2 separate regions of the Homo sapiens genome follow, and region 1 is linked to region 2. Evidence: promoter capture Hi-C in human tissues and cell types (Jung and others, 2019). All regions are on one chromosome and are shown on one strand. Each heading gives the region's core, a stretch centred on a gene start or on the middle of the fragment in contact. The rest is flanking DNA. Distances are from core to core; before and after follow the strand shown. Region 1 overlaps IQSEC1 (IQ motif and Sec7 domain ArfGEF 1). Region 2 holds the start of NUP210 (nucleoporin 210).

Evidence for each region. The method cuts DNA at HindIII sites, captures the fragments that hold promoters and counts their contacts. A contact is called where the count stands out against the background at its distance.
Region 1: a fragment that was not itself captured here is called in contact with the fragment with the promoter of NUP210 in region 2 in 1 of the 25 tissues and cell types used here (spleen).

The regions. Positions count from the first base shown.
Region 1 is chr3:13,038,794-13,043,683 of GRCh38, reverse strand. The region is part of intron 1 of IQSEC1 (IQ motif and Sec7 domain ArfGEF 1); the gene reads left to right. Among named protein-coding and RNA genes, the nearest start is that of IQSEC1, 32 kb to the left of the region's middle. RefSeq lists enhancers at 1,346-1,941, 2,782-2,841, 2,862-2,951. The HindIII fragment of the contact is 6,139 bases long and covers 1-4,890 here.
Region 2 is chr3:13,417,367-13,422,439 of GRCh38, reverse strand. NUP210 (nucleoporin 210) reads left to right here and starts at 2,118. Exons shown (of 40, transcript NM_024923.4): 1 at 2,118-2,380. The coding sequence starts at 2,214. RefSeq lists silencers at 1,884-2,283, 2,334-2,903. The HindIII fragment of the contact is 28,440 bases long and covers 1-5,073 here.

The DNA.
Region 1 (4,890 bases), core at 851-3,350, 380 kb after region 2:
CTGCCCTGGAGTCGTTGCTTGTAGTCAGGAGAAAGACAGTTAACAAGTAAACATGCAAAAGCAGGATCCTTTCAGAGGATGGGATGTCCCATGGAAAGAATCAGACAGGGTAGTGGCTGAAGGGGGCTGAGCTGCTATAGCTTAGACACGAGGGGTGCTGGAGTGGGACCTGACTGACGAGGAGGAGCGGAGCTGCAGGAAGTGCACCCGAGAGCAGACTGCATGGAACCAAAGGGTGTGCCGGATTCATGGGGGTGAGGGTGGCTACTGTATCTGGGACCCAGAGCCTCAGACTTTCAGGTGGCTAGTGTGTGGGAAATGGGCCATGGGAGGGTTGGAGCAGACGCCGGGACCAGCCAGATCCCAGGAGATACAAGGGGAGAGGTGAGGGTGGGCCAGGGACTCCTTTCCTATTGTCTGTGACTGCCAGGTCCCCTGGCCTGTGGGGCCACCCATTCTGCCTGGGGTCCCTCTGCCCAACAATGCGCCTGGTTGTCTGTGGCCCTGCAGCTCAGCCGCTCCCCTCCCTGGTTAGCGACAGGATTCCCCTGCCGGCAGCCAATGAGCGGCTGTCATAGCGGTTCCATTTTAGATTTTATCAATGTGTCCCCGTCGCCCAGGCAACGGCAGGCGCTGGGCGACCCTGTCAGTCTTCCTTCGCCTGCCTTTCAGAGCCCAGCTGCCCCCACCCCAAGCACCATGTGGCTACATGGTGAGTTTTCCCTCGCACAGGCCGAACAGGGATTCCGCCAAACGTAATTTATCTGGCAAAAGAGGCCAGTGTTTGCCTGTCATCTGGCCCCCTCCCTACCTGCTCTCCCTGGGTCTTCCTGGCCTCAGCCACTCTGGGCCAGCCAGGCGGGTGTAGGACTGTCCAGCCAGTGCCGGCCCCACCACCCGGAGCCCCAGGGCCTGGTTGGAAGAACAGACTTGCAGAGCCACCGTCAGGAGCCCTAGCATCCAGACCCCCCAGGATGATGGACTGGGGGCCCCCACAACTTGATACAGCCAGAGCTGCCTTGGTGTGTCCCAGGGACCCCCAGGGAAGCCCTCGGAGGCACCAGCTAACAGAGACAGCAGCAGCATGAGCCGGGCCAGGCGAGCTGCGTGAATGAGTTGCTAGGCTTTTGTGCTGGCTGCTCTTTGTATTGGAGGCGTGTACTGTACAAGCTGCGCCGGGCGGGCTGGGCCATGTGAGTGGGGGCCGCCGTGGCAGGGACCAGGGCGGGCCGAAGCAGCCGGTTCTCCACCTCCCACTAGCCCCTCTCCGTGTCTCCGCGGAGACGTTACCGTGGTCCAGCTGGAGACCAAAAGGTGAAAATGCTCAAGTTCAAGGCCTTTTGCCTGGATTACTGGCAGTTCCTGTGCCTACAGCCCCTGCATGGAGCCTACAAAAGGTAAGTCGACCCTCTGGGGAGAGCCTTGGCCACTAGGGCAATGGGACCTGGAGAGAAAGTTCGCCCTGATCCTGCCCGATTGCAGGGCTTCCTCCTCTTGGCGGAGGGTCCCCGTCACTGGCCAAGACCAGCAGCAGCGTTTGTCGTGGTTCACTTTGCAACTGGGCTTAACTATTCTTTCCTCTCCCTCTGGCCTGAAACTGGTAGAGTTTCTGCAGAGAAAGAGTCACCCTGGACTGCTCTGTGGCCAGGCACTGTGTTTCATTGTTCCTTGCTGCCGGGGTGAGCCCTAGGCAGGGAAGCTGCACCGGCCCGGGGTCCCCGGCCTGCTCTTTCCCGGTACACTTGCTCCGACCTCGTGGGCTGGATGACTCAAGGGTTGGCCTGCCTCCTCCCTAAGCACAAGTTTGGGGAGGCAGAGTTGGGGGTCCCCTGGTCAGGAGATCAGGAGCCCGAAGTTCAGTCCCTTTCCTGGCTGCGCGATCTTGGGCGAGTCACTTTCCCTCTTTAAGCCTGTTTCCCAACTGTAGGGATTCGGATTTGATGACATGGATTTGGGGACTGCTCCCTGAGGTGACAGGGGCTGCAGGCACCACAAGCCCGAATGTTCATACCTCCGGCAGGTTCTTCCGAGCGTGTGTGTTCTGTCCAGTGCACACCTTGGTCAAGAAAGAACCACATCCGGGCCAGCAGGAGATCATCATGGAGCCGTCGCCATGGTCACCTTGAACGGCGTGTTATTAAAGACCTGGAGGAGGGAATTGTCCCGTCTATTCTGAGGGAATTAGTTTTTCCTGATTTCACACTCTGTGAAGTCTGCGGCCATTAGCATACGAGCAATTCTGGGAAAGTGTGGGAGCTTTTCTTCTTCCTTCCAGTGGGCTTTCTCCAAAGGGGGCGGGCACGGAGGGTCTCACGGCAGCTGTAGAAAGGAAGTCCCTGCTCTTGGGAGGGTGCCAGCGAGAGAGGCCTGTCCTGCGTCTGATTAGTGCAAGCCACATCAGAGAGGAGCCCGACACCCAGTGGGCCCTGAGCGCTGTGGTGCAGCCTTTCACCCCACCCCCCGCCCCCAGGCTTGTTCATGCGGCCTCAGGAGGGCATGTCCGGCTGTCAGTGATTCGGTGTCTACCGCGGTGGGGCACTTTATATACTTAATTGTTCATCCTCATCCCTCCTGCAAAAGAAGCATTAAAGCCCCTGTGCGCAGGTGAGCAGAATAAAACCAGAGGGCAGGCAACTGCAGAAGAGTGGCCACGAGATCTGACCCCTGTCTTTCCTGTCTCGAGATGCAATCTCTCTTGAATGTCTACAGTCTCAGTCCATGCAGACGCCGGAGTCCTGGGCCAGGCAGGGACAAATGAGGGACAGACCCTGCTCCACAGGGCTCAGCTAGCCAGGCATGAGTCGCGGTCAGAGTCTTGAAAGAGGAGCAGGGCTGGGTGCGGGGGCTTCATGGAGGAGGTGACAGCTGAGCCAGGTGGTAAAGTGTCTGGAGGAGTTTGCTGGGTTGAGATGGGGAGCACAGGTGTTCCAGACAGAGGGGAAACCACATGGGAAAAACCCAGAGGCTTTAAAAGGGAAGGGTGTCTTTGGGTCATGGCAAAAGGCCATGGAGCTGGGAAGGGGTACCAGGGGCTGGGGCTCAGGACCGGAGCCTGGGCCTTGTCCTGCATTCAGTGGGGAGCCCATGAAGGATCTTAGTGGGCAAGTGGCAAACTGAGAGTCACACTCTGGGGGCCACGTGGTCCAAGTGTGAGAGGCGTGGCTCAGGCTCTAGGAGGAACCCGTGAGAGCGCTCTTTGTCCCCTCCCCTGACCTATGGAGGTTCTTACTCAGAGCCTGTGCTCTTGTTCTTAAGCCCTGACTGTGCCTGAAAGACAAATGAGACTAATCCTTGAGGAACTCCCAACCTACAAAGGGAAAAGACCTATTAACAACTCATGAATGTTAAGAATGGGGTATAAACAGAGGGTGCACAAATTACCAGCAGCCTGAGGGAGGTCTTATTGGAAGGCTTCCTGCAGGAGGTGGCATCTGATCCGGGCCTAGACATGGGAGTTGGAATTTTCCAGACAGGGAAGGGCACTGTGGGTGGAAAACAAAGCACGAACAAACGTATGGTGTGGGACCAAGCCTCACATGGTGCATAAATGATCAGAGGTGAGGCTGAAGCCTAGGTGTGTGTCAGGGGAAGAGCTAGAAAGGAAGGTGGGGCAGGGAAGCTCAGTGAGTGTCTGCTACATGTGAGGCTTCATTCTGAGCACCAACTCTGCGCGCTAATGCCACGAAGTGGAGTCATGATTCTTCCATTTTCCAGGTGAAGAAACCAAAGCACGGGGAGAAGTAGCTTGTCCAAGGGCTCATGGCCAGTCGGTGGTGCCACTGGGATTTAACCAGGGGATCCAGCTGTGGAGGCTGCATGCTGCCAGCTGAGCAGCTCGGTCTGTCCACCCTGGCAAATGACATGCTGAGGGCTGGGGGCAGTCATCTTTCCAGCAGTTGTCGACCAGAAATAATGATAATGCATCAGCCAGGTGGGCAAGAACTCAGACTTTGTGGTCAGACCTCGCTGTGGCAGGGAGCTTAGAAAAGTCACTTTTCCTCCACAGCTGTGTAACATGGGGAAAGGGGGATGCTCAGCTCACCTCTCATGGCCCTTGTGTGGGGATTTCAAGGGTAAATGCTGGAAAAGCACTGAATATACAGCACTTAGTAGAGGCTTTGCAAGCGGCTGTCCTCACCCAAACGGATCCTTCCCCAGGAAAGCTCTGCAAATGGAGCCACTTGGCTTTTTGCCTGATGCCATATTCCGTTGTTTAAAACGGCGATCCCAAACTTAAGAGTATGAAAGGGGTGTTTTGCAGACAATGCATAATTAACCACTTCTAAACACAGGGTGTGCCAGGCTCCCTCAAAGCTGTTAATTATTCTTCATTAGTGATCTTAAGTTAATGTAAAATAATCCTGGAGCTCTGCCAGAGGCTCGGGCAGGGGAAGGAGCAGAGCCGCTTATTTCAACTAGCAAACGGAAAGAAATCTTCACGGGGCGCCTCTGCGTTCTGCCTTGGTTGTGGGGAGATGCCTCTATAGACTCTTTAGCTCTGGCCCAAAGGCCATTGTGGGAGGCGGCAAGCCCTCTCCCAAGTTCCCAGAGCCCAGCCGACCTCAGGGTACTTTGGTTAATGAAATAGTTCAGGTGGGAAGAAAATATGGAGGAGAGTAGTATACCCATCGCCCAGCTTCCAAAATAAGCTGTTAATGGTGTGGTGGACTGCCCCTGTGGGCCACCCCACAAATCTTATCCCTTTCCTGCTTCCCCAGAGCTAAGCCTAAACAGTCCCTCTTGTTTGGTGTGTAGATTTCCCATGCACATTTTTTTAAATTGCTGTAGGTACATAGTAAGTGTATATATTTATGGGGTACGTGAGATGTTTTGACACAGGCACGCAATGTGAAATACACACTTCATGGAGAATTCATGGCTTAGTGAGCT
Region 2 (5,073 bases), core at 869-3,368:
GGACATTGATACAGTCAAGCCACCAAGCACTTCCATCCCAGGGACTCCTCATGTTGACCTTTTATAGCCACATCACTTCCTATGCCACGCCGCCCCTGACCCCACAATCACTCACCTGCTCTATACTTCTATAATTTTGCCAACTCAATAATCTTGTATAAAAGCAAGTTTACAGTATGTAACCTTTTGTGCTTTTGTAGTGTTTGTTTTCCAGTCCGTATAATTCCCTGGAGCTTCATCCAAGATGGATGTATTAGCAGTTCATTTCTTTTTTTGCTGAATAATATTCCATGGCATAGATGTGCCACAGTATTTAATCATCACCCATGAAGGACCTCTGTGCTGTTTCCAGTTTGGGCCTATTTGATAAAGCTGCTATGAATGTTTTATGTACAGGTGATTGTGGGAACATCACTTTTCATTTCTCTAGGATATATGTCCAAGAGTGAGATTTACCTGCCTCGCAAGACATATGTATATGTATGTATATGTGCCATATTTCATATATACATATGTGTGTGCATGTATGTGTATGTGTGTGCATGTGTGCCATGTTTTATATATATATATGCTTGTTTATGCATAAAATTTCTCTGGATGTATACTCAAGTGGGAAACACTCATTGCCTGTAGGGAAGGGTATTGGGTGATGGGGAGGGAGAGGAATCACTTTCACTTGGAACCCTTTTGAGCCTAAGTTTCAACCATCTGTCTGGATTACCTGTTGGAAAACAAATCAATCTTGTGCAACCCAGAAGACACCCACAGACTTCCTCACAAATACCCTCTGAGGCTGCCTTTTCCGCGCAAGTCTGTTTTTTGTTTCTTCAAAGGGAGCCCGTTGGAATTCCCCTCCCAGAGCACCTGGTTCCACACAGGGCCGACCCTCACCCCCTTAGTTCTGGTTATCTCCAGAGATTTCCCCCAACACACACATTCCCTGGTCTAGGGCCCTCAGGCTTCGAGGGTGACCCCAAACACCCCGCATCACCATCCAAAAGCCCCATGATCCCTGAGGGGCAGGCTCAGCCTATGCGGGCCTCGCTGAAGCCCAGTGCGGTGTCTATGCCCAACCCAGGGGCCGCCGCCTCCAAAAAGCCTTCCTAGCCTTACTGACATTTATCCTCTCCTTCCTGGTCACCCAGTGGCATCGTTGTGTGTCTTCCTGGTTACAGTCAGCATCCACTTCCTGCACTCCTCAGACAGCCGGCCAGTGCACCCTCACCCCACCCTTTCCTGACCTCCCGCTAGGCTGGGCCTTCTCTGCAAGGCTAGATTCATATTTTAGCGGCACCAAGCAGTCAGGTGCCTGCTGACGCATGCCTTCATGCAATTCACGACAGACAGCTAAAAGCCACAGAGCACAGCGCGGAATCTAAGGCCTTCCATTGGTGTGCAGGTGGATTCCGCGGTGCTAAACTTTCTTTTGTGGGTGTGGGGGCCGTGGAGGGGGTTGTGCTCTGGCAGCGTTGGCGCCCTAAATGACCTATAGGTAACCTCTAATGGCTTCCGCAGGGGGTGCAGTGCGGAGGACAAGAGCTTGGGGCTCTCTGGCTGAGTGATCTGGGGGCCATTCAACCGGTTTTTTCCTGGAGAAATGGGAATCTTAAGGCCTCTCTGGAAAGGGTGTGAGGGGGTCGAGGGGGAGCGGGCCCCGGGCCTTCAGCGCTTCAGCAGGTGGCTTCCCTTTGCGAGCCCGGGGTCCCTCTTCTGGGAAGCATGGGCTGGGACAAGGCAGGCGCCGGTTTTCTGCATCCCAAATGTCCTGGGGCATGTGTCCCTTCCTTGCTGACCGTGGGTCCGGGCCAGAGCGCAAGGTCCAAAGCCGGCGGCTTGGCTCCACCGCCAGGGGCAAATACCAGGGCGGGATGCGTGCTGCGGGGCGCCCCGGGGGCTCCCCCTTGGGACTTCTAGGGTCCAGGGGTCCCCGCGGGCGCGCCCCAAGCCTTCTCCCTCAGCTCCGGGGGCCCGGGCGCGCGCCCATCCCCCAGCCCCGCGTCCCTGCGCGAGGGCCGGGCTGGGGGTGGGGTCGCCGCGAGCTCGGCCCCCAGAGTTCCCGCGCTCAGGCCCAGGAAGCGGCGGCCGCCGACGGCCCTCGCCCCGCCCCCGCGCTCATCACCTGCTGGCCTGGCGCGCGCGCGGGCGGGAGCGGAGGGCAACGGGGCGGCGCGGGCGGCCGGGCGCAGGGTCGCGGGAGGTGACGCGCGGCGAGGATGGCGGCGCGGGGCCGGGGGCTGCTGCTGCTGACGCTGTCGGTGCTGTTGGCGGCGGGCCCCTCCGCCGCTGCGGCCAAGCTCAACATCCCCAAAGTGCTGCTGCCCTTCACGCGGGCCACGCGCGTTAACTTCACGCTGGAGGCCTCGGAGGGCTGCTACCGCTGGTGAGGCGCGCGGCCGGGCCGGGCGGGCGCCGTGGGCCGGGCTGGGCCTTCGCGCTGAGAGGCTGGGCGGGCGCCGGGAGGCCGGCAGAGCCGGCAGGTGCGCGGCGCGCTCTCGCTGGGCGCTAGGCTGCAGCACTCGGAGCGGCGGGTGCGCGTGGGTCGCCACCACTGCTCATGTCATGGCGCCGTCCGGGCCTCCGCGCCGCTGAGGCGCGAGCAGAGCGGGCGCAGCCTGGCGGCCGTGACCCGCGTGTTCTGGGTTGTGCGGGAGGAGGGGTGGCCTGGGGAGCGGCGTCTGGGACCGCAGGGCCCAAGCCGGCCGGGCCCGAGCCGGCCTGACCCGGGAGGGGGCGCCGGGGCAGCTGGGCCGCACTTCCCTTGAGTCTGGGACCCCAGCTCGGGTTTGTCTGTGACCGCCCTCGCCCTGGCGTGGGAAGTGAGTCTGTGAAACGAAGCGCAGCGCCTAGCGTCGCGGGGAGGAACGGAGACCCTGGAGGAAAGGAGTTTTGGAGGGAAGCCCAGGGGCCGCTTTACAGAGGCGAAGTGAGACGAGGCAGGCCGGCGCTTCCCCTCAGGCTGCCTCGGCGCGGGTCCTGATGCTCAGGGCATTTCCATCACCCTCCCTCTCGGGTTGGGAGTTCTCCAAGGGGTCGGATGCGGAGTGTGACCCTGTGGAACCACAGGGACCCATGAAACCAGAGACCGACACTGACAGGGCGGTGCAGTCCAGCCCTTCCATTTTGCAGACCAGGGGAAATGGAGCTCCTGCCCCTGGCAAGGCTGCGTGGGCACGACTGAGCGCCCTTAGCTTCCCAGCCCAGCCGTCCTAGGGGTGAAAAGATGGGCTTCCGCCCTTCCCACCCCCAGGATGCTCAGTAGTTGCTCCCTTTATTTCTGTTTCAAGACTGGGTCAAGGTTGAGGCAGAACGGGGTGTGACCACGTGACAGCCATGTGTGTAAGCCTGGACATGTGTGTGTCAAGCCTGTTTGAGTATTAGTCTGTGCGTGTATGTAAGTGTGATGCCCGAAGCTCAGACCAGCCAGCTTTCTCTGTTGCTTGCACTATTTGCCCTATTTCTTTCTTTCTTTTTTTTTTTTTTTTTTTTTTTTTGAGACGGAGTTTTGCTTTGTCGTCCATGCTGACGTGCAGTGGTGCGATTTCGGCTCACTGCAACCTCCACCTCCCGGGTTCAAGCGATTCTCCCGCCTCGTAGCTGGGATTACAGGTGCAGGCCACCTGGCTAATTTTGTTTGTTTGTTTGTTTGTTTTTAGAGTGCACTCCAGCCCTTGTTGCCCAGGCTGGAGTGCAATGGCGCGATCTCTGTCCACTGCAACTTCCGCCTCCCCGGTTCAAGCGATTCTCCTGCCTCAGCCTCCCGAGTAGCTGGGATTACAGGCGCCCGCCACAACACCCAGCTAGTTTTTTGCATTTTAGTAGAGACGGGGTTTCACTATGTTGGCCAGGCTGGTCTCAAACTCTGGATTCACTGTGTTGGCCAGGCTGGTCTTGAACTCCTCAAGACCAAGGAGAACTCCTCAAGCGATCCACCTGCCTCAGCTTCCCAAAATGCTGAGATTACAGGCGTGAGCCACCATGCCTGGCTTGTCTGGCCAATTTTTGTATTTTTAGTAAAGATGGGGTTTCACTATGTTGGTCAGGCTGGTCTCGAACTCCTGACCTCAAGTGATCCCGCCGCCTCTGCCTCCCAAAGTGCTGGGATTACAGGCGTGAGCCACTGCACCCGGCCTGCCCTATTTCTTTTTTGAAGGTCTCCTTCCTGAAATCAAGACGTACTAGGTCAGCCCATTGCATTTTGGTTTTAGTGCTTTATGCACCTGGAGGCTCCTATTTCTGGCCTGATGCCAGAGGCTGAACTTGGGCATTAGGTTTTCTGTATCCCAGTCTAAGGCCTAGTCTTGTGTGGGAAAATCAGCTGTTAGTCAATACTGTGGCGGGGATACATGCTCATTCTCTTGTTGAAGCTGTCTGTCCTCTCAGTATGTGGGCAAGAAAGAGGAAACTGGTTATTAAAAACAGCTGGCTTCAAGTGAATCCCTTTGGATATATTTGTGTGTTACTTTCTCTGAGATTCTATAGCTGTACTTTTTTCTTTTTCTAAACTAACAACACTTTTTTCCCCCCCAACATCATTTTCTTTTCTGAGAGGAGCTGAAGGGTGTTGGTGGATTTTAATTTACTTGGTAGGAAAAAGGGAAAAAACATTCTTAATCTCTGATGCATCAGAGAAGTGCTAAGTACCTTATAACGTGTTTGGCGTTGATCTGTAGTTTGTATTGCAGATGTGTGACTGCAGATGTGTGACTGCTATTCAAAGTGTCTTCTCAGAGGTGTTTGGAAATTGTGATTCCCCCTTAACTTGACAGGAAGACATTCTGTCAATCAAGCATTGAGAATATTTTCTTTATTTTTAGTATTGCTGTTCCTAGTGTAGTCGTCTATTGCTGCAGTTTTGAAGAATCTGCTCTGGAGATTTTAAGAGCTGGCCTATAGACATATATCCACAGTCCTCTAAACCTGGGAGGAACATTACCTCTTCATCCAGAAAGTTCATTGTTAAGTCTCTCAGACGAAAAAGAAAATGAGAATTCTGCCAGACCCTGTGGGAACATTTGCACATCCATTGAATTTGCAGCTGAGCTCTAAGTTTACAGAAATCACTGTGTGTGCCTG